3 separate regions of the Homo sapiens genome follow, and all the other regions are linked to region 2. The links are contacts of gene promoters, found by promoter capture Hi-C in blood cells and fetal thymus (Javierre and others, 2016). All regions are on one chromosome and are shown on one strand. Each heading gives the region's core, a stretch centred on a gene start or on the middle of the fragment in contact. The rest is flanking DNA. Distances are from core to core; before and after follow the strand shown.

Region 1 (4,075 bases), core at 448-2,947, 430 kb before region 2:
CCACCCAGCTCCCAGGCACCCCTCCTCCTTCCTTCCCTTTCAATCCCGAGGGCCGGGAACAGAGGCCAGGTGGGGCAGACCCTCTCAGGTTCTCTCTCAACCACCGCCTCCCACAGTTCCTCAGCCATTTCCCAAGGGGGTTGTAGTGCTGGTATAAACAGGAAACAAGAGTGCTGCTTTAAAGGAAGGGGGAAGCTCCTCTGAGGGTCCACCCCTTTTGGTTTACACAGACCCTCTAGAGAAAGGCAGAAGCACTTAGGATGAAGGACACATGGAGTGTCCTGTGTACCAGGGGCTCAGTTAAGAGCCATTAGCATTTTTGGAGAAACTCATGCTCAGAAAGCTTCTCCACCAACTGCCCAGAAGCTTCCCCACACCCAGCACTGACCCAAAGATCAGAACATAACAGAAGCAAGAGAAGGCAGTGAGGGAGGGCCAGAGGGAGCAGTGGGCAGGAGGGGATGTTCCTTGTGGTTAAGGTCTGGCTTTTCCTGGGGAGGGACCTAGCTCAGTCCAGAACAGCATTTGTGGAACTCATTTTCACTATCAACTCTCTGGGAAGAAAACCCTGCTGTTTGGGTTTCCTGCCAGCCTGGTGGGAGGCTTCCTGGACAGCATCCTTCTGAGGCTCCCTTTCGGTCTTCACTTGGTGCCAGGGGCCCACCCTCCTACCTGGATATTTCTCAAGACTCTGACACCCAAAGTAGTGATGGTCAGTGTTTGACCCAAAAAAGTGTGGCTGTGCCCATGGCTAGAGAGAATCCCTTGGGCACTGTGTCAGGCTCCACACCGGTGGAACCTATCCTACCCTATACCCCATTTCTTTTTTTTTTTTCTTTTCTTTTTTTTTTTTTTTTGGGGGGACAGAGTCTTGCTCTGTCATCCAGGCTGGAGTGCAGTGGCACAATCTTGGCTCACTGCAGCCTCCACCTCCCGGGTTCAAGCGATTCTCCTGCCTCAGCCTCCCAAGTAGCTAGGATTACAAGTGCCCGCCAACACGCCCAGATAATTTTTATATTTTTAGTAGAGATGGGGTTTTGCCACATTGGCCAGGCTGGTCTTGAACTCCTGACCTCAGGTGATCCACCTGCCTCGGCCTCCCAAAGTGCTGGGAATACAGGCGTGAGCTACCGTACCCAGCTCCATACTCTATTTCTTTACCAGATAATGACTCAGCTCTGGACTACACTAAAGAAAACATATTAATATTCTGTTCATATTTGCCTAAGAGGAACTAAAAACTAGGGAAAGAAAATAAGCAGTACCATCATTCAGCTTTTCTTCTCTTTTTCTTTCTTCTTCAAGGAAATTTCATTAAAAGGCAGACTTCAAGGCACTGGTGGGTTATGCCTCCAACAACTCTGCCTTTCCCACTGACACTGCATTCAAATTCACAAGTTTCACTGACTAACTTCATAACCTACACAATTTTTTGCACTGCTTTATATGCAAATTATCAACTTTCTCCTGGAGGAAAGTCATTAGTCTAAGCCTAACTTTTCTGCTGAATACCATGGCCTCCATCTTCTAGATCAAGCCCTGTGACCAGCTGCCAGGGAGGGCAACTCCCCACTCACACAGGATCCTAGGAGAGAAATTACCAGAGATGGGTTTATCCTTAATAAGCATCCTTAATAAGTGTCAGGGACTTAGGTGGCCCTCTCAATGAAAAAGCCAAGTAGGCTTTCATCTGAGTTCCTACTGAAAAAAAATATACATATATACATATATATACATATATCTGGCCAGTGTGTGACAGCATCCATTTGTGTGTGTATATTGTTGGGAATAACAAAGAAATACTTTTAGCCCTAATACTAACTCCATTTGACAAGTTCAATTGTCAGAACAAAACACCAAACAGAAGGAGGACCCCACTCTGAATGAGTTCACAGTCATCCCCAGTATGGCCATACCCTGTCCTTCAAAAGCCTCACAGCAATAATGGGATTCAAAGAAAATGTATTCAGCTACCCAGATGGACAGCTTCACTTCCGGCATCTCTAACAGGTTAACTGCACTCAGAGAAAGGACAAGAAAATACATGAATGTGGCAGATTCAGCTTCTTAAAACCTAACTGGCTGTGAGCCATTCTGTCTCCAGATAAAGCTATTTACAAAGGACCACAGGGGACTTGGTAGAGGACACAACACTGATGGCAAAGGACAACTGTCCCCAGGACAGCCACACTCGGAGTCAGCCATGTGCTTGCCATGCCTTCTCCTCCCACCTCCTTAGAGACTCACTCCATTGCCCTCTCCATCTTCTCATCTCTCTCCCTCACCACAGCCCTACTTACAACCATCTAGGCAGGCTCAACAAACAACTTCTGACAGCTCATCCAACCAATGCACTTTCTTCCCCACTTCATGGGTAAACCTCTGGGAAGAGCTGTCGACATTTCATGTCCCCTCCCTGGCTGTGCATCATTCCTCAAACCACAACAACCCAACTTCAACCCCACCTGTTCCACTGAAGCAGCTCTCCCAGGTCAACAAGGACTTTGTCACGAAACCCAGCAGGGACTCAGTCCTCACCTCGTTCAATCCCTCAGCAGCTTTTAATGCTACTATTGAAAAACACTCTTCCTCTGGCTTCCAAGCAGCACCTCCCCCTGGGTTGATGCCTGCCTCTCTGGCCAGGCATCTTTAGCTGACCTTCTCCTTAGGAACTGCCTCTTCATCAGCCTGTCCCCGCATTTGAGGGTTCCTTGGGGTTGGTCCTAAGCTCTCTTATTCTTCTGCTGCCTCCCACTCTCCCTGAGTTTCCCCATTCATTCTCATGCTCCCTGCTGTCTCTTCTTGAGCTACAGACCCTAAATCCAAATAACTACTAGATGTCTCCACAGACACCTAAAACTCACCATGTGTCCAAAACCAAGCTCATCATCTCTTCCCACAAACCTCTTCCTTCTACTATGTGACTTATCTTAGCAAATGGTACCCTTTCCCCGAATTTTCAAGAGAACAAGGTGGCCATCACCCTTAGTGGCTCCTTTCTCAGCTTGTAGATCTGTCACCAAGCTTGTTCATGCTACCTCCAAAACAGCTTTCAGTTGCATCCACTCCTTATGCCACCTGTCATTCCCTTAATTCAAGCCAACATCATCCCTCCTGAGTAACTGCAACAGCCTAACTGGCTACCTCACCTTCAGCCTAGAGTCCACTCCCACCTACGCTCTCGCCACTGCAACACGAGGACCTTCCCAGAAATTCTGATTGTGTCACTCTCCATCCTGAACCCCTTCCACAGCTCCCCAGTACCTAGATGACAGGTCTTCAAAATGGCATACAAGCCCCTTGAGATCAGGGTCTTATCTACTCATCCAGCCTTATCTCTTACAGCCATTCTGAACTAGAGTCAGTTTCTAGAACAGGTTGTACTTTCTTACCTTTAGGACTTTTGCTCCTGTGTTCCTACTTAAACAGTCTGCAAACCACCCTCTACTAAAACCCACTTCTCTTCCAGCAAATTTTCCTTGATCTTTTAAGAGTTCCCTTTCTCTCCAAATCTTCCCCAACTGCCTGTGTGTCCCAGCGGCCCCTGTCCTTCCTTAGGAGTGCTCCCCACCGTGGTTCATGCCTGTAATCCCAAAACTTTGGGAGGCCAAAGTGGGAGGATCGCCTAAGCCTAGGAGATTGAGGCTGCAGTGAGACCTGATCATGCCACTGCATTCCAGCCTAGATGACAGAGCAAGACCCTGTCTCAAAAAAACAAAAAAACAAAAAAAGACGGCTTCCCACACCGCATAGTCTCCGCCTCGAGACCATCATCTCTGTGGGGGAGCCATGTTGACTTCCTCACCACTGTACCCCCAGCACCTGGCCTGGCACCTAGAACCACATCTGCAGAGGCAGCCAGAGCCAATGATGCTGAGAGAATCCAGGGTTTGCTGAAGTGGCAGGTGTAGCTGGGCTACATGTCGCGTAGGCTGACAATTCATTTTTGCACTCAGTAGCACTAGAGGAGGCATTTTAGGGCTGCAGCCAGCTGTCCCACTGTTTATCTCCCCTTCTTCTTAGACATTTGTGGCCAAATGTATCCTAAGCAATACGGGGGTTTCCAAAAAAAGTA
Region 2 (3,979 bases), core at 590-3,089:
GAGGGGAGGCCAAATATCCAAACCATAGCAATGAATCTTATTTGCAGCTGGCCTGTGTTGGTTCAGTGCTTAACTCCAGTGGTATTTGGGAGTCTGGTAAAGACCCTCAGCCAAAATATTAATTGATTGTTCTTGCTGGTGATTTATAAGATGCTGTTTAAAGTCCAGAACTCCCTGGGAGGCATGCTTCAGCAGTATGTCTATATTATTTCTTAAACATATGTAGATTGATGATTTGCATTTGGTTTACATGTTTACCCAGCCTGATTTAAGCTACGTAATGAGTGGGGTATACAAAATCCCTCTGTAAGCTGTGCCTTAGCTTCCCAAGACCAAGGGATTACACACATATCAAGAAGAAAGTGCTCTTTCTCATGATATAGAAATATTTCTTCATGTTACTGATAATGCAATAAAGTGTATATGCTTCTGAGTGATTTGCTAATGTGTATGTCAGCAACACATTCAGTATCCAGAATGGCTTGAAGTTATGCCTTCAGGGCCAAAAATAACATAATGTTAAATTCTGTAGATTCAATAACAGAATTTATTAAGAAATCTGCACTGTGAGGTAAATGATTAAACACTGACTCTTTCTCAACATTAGATAATTCTTTTTATTCATCAGAGAAATGTGATTTATGACACATTTAAAAGCATGTTTAAGGCCGGGCATGGTGGTGTATACCTGTAGTCTCAATTACGTGGGAGGCTAGGGTGGGAGGATTGCTTGAGCCTAGTAGTTCTAGGCTTCAGTGCGCCATGATCACACCTGTGAATAGCCACTGCACTCCAGCCTGGGCAACATAGCAAGATCCCATCTCTAAAAAGAAATTTTGTTTTAAAGCATGTTTAAAACATACATACACCAGCCTGGCCAACATAGTGAAACCCTGCCTCTACCAAAAATACAAAAATTAGCTGGGCGTGGTGGCACGTGCCTGTAATCTCAGCTACTCGGGAGGCTCAGGCAGGAGAATTCCTTGAACCCGGGAGACAGAGGTTGTGGTGAGCTGAAATTGTGCCACTGTGCTCCAGCCTGAGCAACAGAGGGAGACTCTGTCTCAAAAAACAAACAAACAAACAACAAAAAAACCATACATAGAAATGTTCCAGTAGAATACAAAGAACCACTTTCTAGAACTGAATGCACCAGAGAGGATTAGAAACCCACTTATTCTCTCCCAGCTTCAAGTATTTAACGTTCCTACTTTTGCACGTGGCAGCCTTGCTGACTCAGATCCGAGGGCGTTGAAAGACAGATTCACAATTTCTGGTCCATATTTGATGCAAATATTTAGAACTATCTAGCAGAGCTTGCTGCCTTTCCAACAATCCAGTTAGTGAATTGAGAATGTTCTCATTTAATAGAAATGAAAGGTAAACGAAGGATCCACCTGGCCATGGGACTGGAGGAATGACCCAAGCCATGCTTCATAGAGGCACAGATAGACACCCTCAGGGAAGCCGAGACCCTTTGAAAAAAGGGCCTGGTGTGTGTATTTTCACACTGCCCCCTGCTGGCTGACACTGGAACATTGATTCTTCCTGCTGACACTGGAACATTGATTCTCCTGTGGCTCTAAGACGACCTAACAGGATGAGGCCAGCGGGCCCCCCGCAAGGAAACTTGAGCTAGAGGCAGTTGGATTTGGCTGAGACGCTCTCCTCAGGGAAGGCCAGGTCTGGGAGTGGGTTTGAACAGCAGTGGAGAAATAACTTCCATAGGGCATGTCAGAGTAAGTTCTAGTGTTTCCAAGAGAATGGGACAGGATCTTAGTGGAATTTAGAAGCCAGGCAGGTGGAAAAGCATTGAGGACCCCATCCCAAGGGCTCGAGTCCCTAGAGACAGCCTGGAAAGATTGGGTGCCAGCTGCAGAGAGGAGAGCAAGGCGACCAAACGCAGGGTAAGGTCTGGAGGTGCTCATAGTTCACTACGGGACATGTACATGGAAGTGAATAATTATGTCACAAGGTGCCAAGGGGGCTAGTTACCTCACATAGGATCTTAGAAAAGGTCTCCTGGAGACCATGTCTGAGCTGGTCCTGAGGTGTGAGTAGGGATTCTCCGCAGGGCGGGGAAGGACTTGAAAGAGTCTGGCAATATGGAGCACATCAGGATTATGGAAGGTGAGCTTGGAGAACAAGGCAGAGTCTAGCCTGTGAAAGGCCTCTTGCAATTTGTTGAGGATCCATGACCTTCTCCCATGCATGGTGAAATGCCCTTAAAGGATTTTGAATAGATTTAAAAGACACTCAAAAACAAAAAACGGTAGATTCAAAATAGACGGTAGGGATCGCTTTCTTCCGTTTTCTTTGAAGGATCAGAAGTGTTTACCACCACCTGGATTGTTTTTGGGCTTTCAGGTGAGTGGGAAAACAAAGAAATTCATGCCTGATCATGTTGAGCCACTTATATAATGTTGCTTTGACACTAATGGAGATGTAACTTCTTTTAAGACATAATAGAATCTCCTAAGTGGGTGTGGGAGTCGTAAGAAGGAGGAATCTGGGCTTCTACAAGCAAGATAGCATGTATTCATTTATTCAGTCAGTCAGTCGCTGGATCGATGCGCTTAGCTTTGTGCTCTGTGCTGGGTGCTGTGTGGGATATAAAAGAAGGTGAGGCCGGGTGCGGTGGCTCATGCCTGTAATCCCAGCACTTTGGGAGGCCAAGGCAGGTAAATCATGAGGTCAGGAGATCGAGACCGTCCTGGCCAACATGGTGAAACCCTGTCTCTACTAAAAATACAAAAATTAGCTGGGCGTGGTGGTGTGTGCCTGTAATTCAGCTGCCTGGGAGGCTGAGGCAGGAGAATAGCTTGAACCAGGGAGTCGGAGGTTGCAGTGAGCAGAGATTGCACCACCGCACTCCAGCCTGGCAACAGACGAGACTCCGTCTCAAAAAAAAAAAAAAAAAAAAGAAGCTGAAATTCCAGCTCTTATCCCCCAAGGAATCTGTACATCTGTACTCTGCTTGGGAATCCACAGAAGAAGGAAAGAATGCCAGCAAAGTAAGATCATGCTGCATGACCTCAAGATAGATGTTAAGGACATTTTGATGGGATAAAGGGAATCTTTGCTAGTTCAGAGATGAGCTTTACTGGCTTTGAGCTAAGTGATAGACATAAGTGGGTGGAGTGCAACTGGGGAGAATTTCAGGCCTGGGTAAGGGCCAAGTGTGAATGGATGGTCTCATGTAGGAAGCCATCAGGATAGGCATAGCAAATCCAGGAGTCCTCTAACGATGGAAGGAAGACCTTTGCTGATGTAGGAATCGCATTGCAGGTCAGTACTCCTCAGTGAACCTGGAGACCCTGTTGCTTCCTGTTCCCTACCTCAAGGCACTCAGTCTTACAACTTTGGGCTACCTCTCTGAGACAGTAGACTCTGGAGATACTAGCCATATCTTCATCTTTAACATTCACTCAAGATGAGCTGATAAAGCACCTCTTTCATGAAATAGCCCTATAATTTCTATGATTAGAAGTTGAAACTACTCTCATCACATCTTTTGATGTTTATATGAACACTCTTCTGTTAAAAAAAAGATTGCCCTAGTTTTTAGGGCTAATATTAGATGTTTCTGGCATATTCTTTACAAAGCCTTCAAACTAAGTTATGGTATAATATTTGCAATTAGAAAAACAAATACCCAAGGCATGTTTAGAGGTATTTATATGTTTTCTGGTGTCAATTGGAGGTGGAGAGGCCACCAGTGCTCTGAATCCACAAGCTAAGATGAGCTACTTGTTAGGCTTGGCTGTTTGGAATTGTCTGTTCTTTGCAAAAAGCAGACGAAATGAAGTTATGGTAGTTAGTGGGATGAGTGGGCCACCCAGAAAAGTCAAAGTTCAGGTTGGACTCATTTTCTCATGTATTTAAGTGTCTTTGCCATTTGTTTACCTTCTCCTGTGCCTCCACCTCTCATCATTAGGAGATGGGACCAGCATGCTCGGAAGCCCACTCAGCCTATGCA
Region 3 (3,811 bases), core at 248-2,747, 260 kb before region 2:
CACAGGTTCTAGGTTCTTGGCTCTCCTGTAATTGAGGTCTGCTTTCAGCTTGCACCTTTCATAGGCCTTTCATACATTTATTACATTGAGTGCCTGATCTGTGCTGGGTAATATTCTTGGTGCTTGGGATGCTGCAGGGAGATTCCCAGCCCACATGGAGCCCACACTGTAGGGATGTGGACAATGAGATCTGGTTCTGTGAAGAGGAATCTGACAAGGCTCGGGGGATTAAGTGTGGGGATGGGAGTTGATATTTTTGGAAGGGTAGACAGGGAGGAAGGTATATGAGTCTGCTAACACTGCCATAACAAAAATAGCACAGTGTGGGTGGCTTAAACAACGGAAATTTGTTTCGTATAATTCTGGAGTCTGGGAAGTCCAAGGTCAAGGTTCTGGCCTCTTTAGTTTCTGGTGAGGGCTTTCTTCCTGGCTTGTAGGTGGCCATCCTCTTGATGAGTCCTCACATGGCCTTTTCTTGGTGCCATTTATCTTTCTGTTCAAGCACTGTTGGTCACACCTGTAATCCCAGCACTTCAGGAGGCTGAGGCAGGAGGATCACTTGAGACCAGTCTAGGCAACATAATAAGACTCTGTCTCTACAAAATAAAATAAAATAAAATAAAAAATTCGCTGGACGTGGTAGTAGTGCCTGTAGTCCCAGCTACTCAGGAGGCTGAGGTGGGAGGATTGCTTGAGCCCAAGAGGTTGAGGCTGCAGTGAGCCATGATTGTGCCACTGCACACCAGCCTGGGTGACAAAGCTACTTTGTTTAAAAAAATAAAGTTTTCCTATTGGATCAGGGCCCCATCCTTAAGAACTCATTTAAACTTGGTTACCTCCTAAAGGCTCTATCTCTAAATACAGCCACATTGTGGGGGTAGGGCTTCAATATAATGAATTCTTTCGGTGGTGGTGGGGGATACAGTTGAGTTCATAGCAGAGGGCTTGAGTCATTTTTAACTAAAGATGTGTAGGGAGTGAGGCATGTGGAGATCTGGGAGAAGGATCATTCTGAGGGGAGGAAACAGCAGATACAAAGGCCCTGAGGCAGGAGGAGGGGAGAATTTGGTCTTGAGGTCAGAGAAACCATGGGGGTCAGATCATGTAAGGCCATGCGGACCACTGTAAGGCTGGTAGATTTTACCTTGAGGGTGGTAGAAGCCATTGGAGGGTTTTGGAGTAAAGAAGGGAGGTGGACTGATCTAGCTTTTAGCAAGCACACTCTAGGCGTTGCTGTGTGAGACAGATTGAAGGCAGGACAGCAAGGAGACCAGCCAGAATGCAGGGCTGAGGGGAGACTAGTGGGATTTCAAGGTGAGGTTGAGATTTGCTGATGAACCAGAAAGAAAACTGAGGAGGACTCCGAGGTTCTGGTCTTAGCACCTAGAAAGAAAGAGGCCATTAACTGAGATGCTGGAGGAGCTGGTTTAGGCCATGTTAAGTTGTGATGCCAACCCAGCATACCCAAATGCAGCAGAAAAGCAAGGGTGGAGATTTTTGGGGAAGGTCATCCTCAATGGAAATATAAATCTTGGGAGCTTCTCATTGTCCTTTGTCCCAATTTTCGACTTTGACCTCAGGTGACCTCAGCCAAGTCTGTGACCTCAGATCTAGGTGTCTCTAAGGCCCTCTATGGAAATTCCATCCTTAAAGGAGAGTGGTTTTCTCTGGTCAGTGATCAGGAAAATCTTCACTCATGAGTTGTTGTTTTTTTTTTTTTTTTTTTTTTTTGAGATGGAATCTTGCTCTGTCACCTAGGCTGGAGTGCAGTGGTGTGACCTCGGCTCATTGCAACTTCTGCCTCCCGGGTTCAAGGGATTCTCCTGCCTCAGCCTCCCAAGTAGCTGGGATTATGGGTGCATACCACTGTACCCGGCTAATTTTTGTATTTTTAGTAGAGATGGTGTTTCACCATGTTGGCCAGCCTGGTCTCAAACTCCTGACCTCGTGATCCGCCCACCTTGGCCTCCCAAAGTGCTGGGATTACAGGCATGAGCCACCGTGCCTGGCCCACTCATGAGTTTTGCCCACTCATGAGTTTTGCTCAAAGCAGCTGATGGCTCGGGCTTCCTTCCCAAAGGCATCATCTCATTGAGCACCTGGTGGAGGTCATCCATCTATGTGTGTAACTCTTACAGAGATGAATCCCTCTATCTTCTAAGTTGAATGGAAGTGCAGTTTGATAAGGTGCGCTTCTCTGTTGGACCCTCTCCAAGCAATAGAAGGGACCCTAGAAAGACAAGAGAGCCCCATGTGATAGGGCCAAGGAAACAGTGATGGTGCCCATAGGTATTGATTATGCATTGGGCACTTTAGGTTATTATTGCTAGTCCTAGCAACTGGCAGGCAAGGTGGCTTCTGGTCCTTCATTTATTGATGAAGTCTTGGGTAACTTCTGTAAGTTAATTCCTGAGTCTTGAATTCTGTTCCATTAAACCACTGTAGAACACTATTCCCAGCTCTCATCTGAAACTCAGGGTTTCTAAGTTCTCGTTAGTATAGAAGAGGGCAGAGAAGCCAGTGTCAGTTGAGTGCCAGGGAGCTCTGCCCAGCACTCCTGTGTTCTTTCACGTTGATCAGTCTCTGCAGCCCTGTGGGCTGGGTATTAACGCTTTTCATCCTACAGCTGAGGATGCTGAGGTGTGGCAGGAGGGCAGCTTCTTGCCTAGGGTCTTAGCGCTGACAAGTAGAGTCAGGATTTGACCCTAGGCCGGTCAGTTGCCAAGCTCGAAGTTAGACTCTAATCATGCTGTGTTCCAGGATGACTTTTGGGGACTTGGGATAGAAAGTAGGGTTAGGCTACAGAAGTTGGGAATGACATTCCAGATCGAGGGATCAGTGTGAGCAAAGGGTGGAGCAGGAGAGGCATGTGACTGGGAGAGGGTAACTGAGTTAGGACAGTTGGAAGGATGCTGAGGATGTGATGGGGGTCAGGTGGAGAGGTCCTTTGATACTGTATTATGGGGCTTGAATCTTTGTCTGGAAAGGCACGGGGAGATTCCCAGAAGGGGAGTGACTTGTTCAGATGTGCATTTTAGAAAATTTTGGGGTGGAGTAAAGGGTGCACTGGGAGGAGGCTGAGGCTGAATGGGAGCAGGACCGTCTCCTCTTGCTCCTGCCTTGTTTGCCTGTGGTTCATTCCTGGCTACAGTGTTTGCCTTTATGCACCCTAGCTTGGATTCTTTCTGTCAATTCCCTTGTTTGTTCCTGTAGGAATCTTCTACCCACCACCTCAACGCTCACACATTTTTTCCCCCCACTGGCTTTCCTTTGTTCAAGTGAATATATACATACCCCCAGCTCCATTCAATTAAATTTGAATAAGCTTTTTCATTTTGGACCATCATTTCATCTCAGAGTTCTTGGCTTTGTGACTCTGAGGGTCTTCTCCACCCTGCTTCAGACCGAAAGCACTGCTGTGTCCTCAGTCTTCATGAAGGAAACACAATTGCTTTCTTTCTTTCTTTTTTCTTTTTTTTTTTGAGACAGAGTTTTGCTCTTGTTGCCCAGGCTAGAGTGCAATGGTGCGATCTTGGCTCACTGCAACCTCCACCTCCTAGGTTCAAGCGATTCTCCTGCCTCAGCCTCCTGAGTAGTTGGGATTACGGTCACTGCAACTGCGCCTGGCTAATTTTTGTATTTTCATATTTTTTTTGGGGACGGAATCTTGCTCTGTCGCCCAGGCTGGAGTGCAGTGGTGCGATATCGGCTCACTGAAACCTCCGCCTCATGGGTTCAAGCGATTCTTCTGCCTCGGCCTCCTGAGTAGCTACGCCTGGCTAATTTTCATATTTTTAGTAGAGACGGGGTT

What was found. Contacts are between HindIII fragments. The CHiCAGO score rates a contact against its expected background, and 5 or more counts as called.
Region 1: a contact is called between a fragment that was not itself captured here and the fragment with the promoter of PRNT in region 2, in 1 of 17 cell types (naive CD4 T cells). The highest score is 5.3, in naive CD4 T cells.
Region 3: a contact is called between a fragment that was not itself captured here and the fragment with the promoter of PRNT in region 2, in 2 of 17 cell types (naive CD4 T cells and total CD4 T cells). The highest score is 5.5, in naive CD4 T cells.

The regions. Positions count from the first base shown.
Region 1 is chr20:5,165,200-5,169,274 of GRCh38, reverse strand. All of the region lies in intron 1 of CDS2 (CDP-diacylglycerol synthase 2), which reads right to left. Among named protein-coding and RNA genes, the nearest start is that of CDS2, 40 kb to the right of the region's middle. The HindIII fragment of the contact is 2,658 bases long and covers 369-3,026 here.
Region 2 is chr20:4,738,528-4,742,506 of GRCh38, reverse strand. It overlaps PRNT (prion locus lncRNA, testis expressed), which reads left to right and starts at 1,839. Exons shown (of 2, transcript NR_024269.1): 1 at 1,839-1,907. The HindIII fragment of the contact is 12,166 bases long and covers 1-3,979 here.
Region 3 is chr20:4,994,606-4,998,416 of GRCh38, reverse strand. The region is part of intron 1 of SLC23A2 (solute carrier family 23 member 2); the gene reads left to right. Among named protein-coding and RNA genes, the nearest start is that of SLC23A2, 5.0 kb to the left of the region's middle. The HindIII fragment of the contact is 3,661 bases long and covers 1-3,327 here.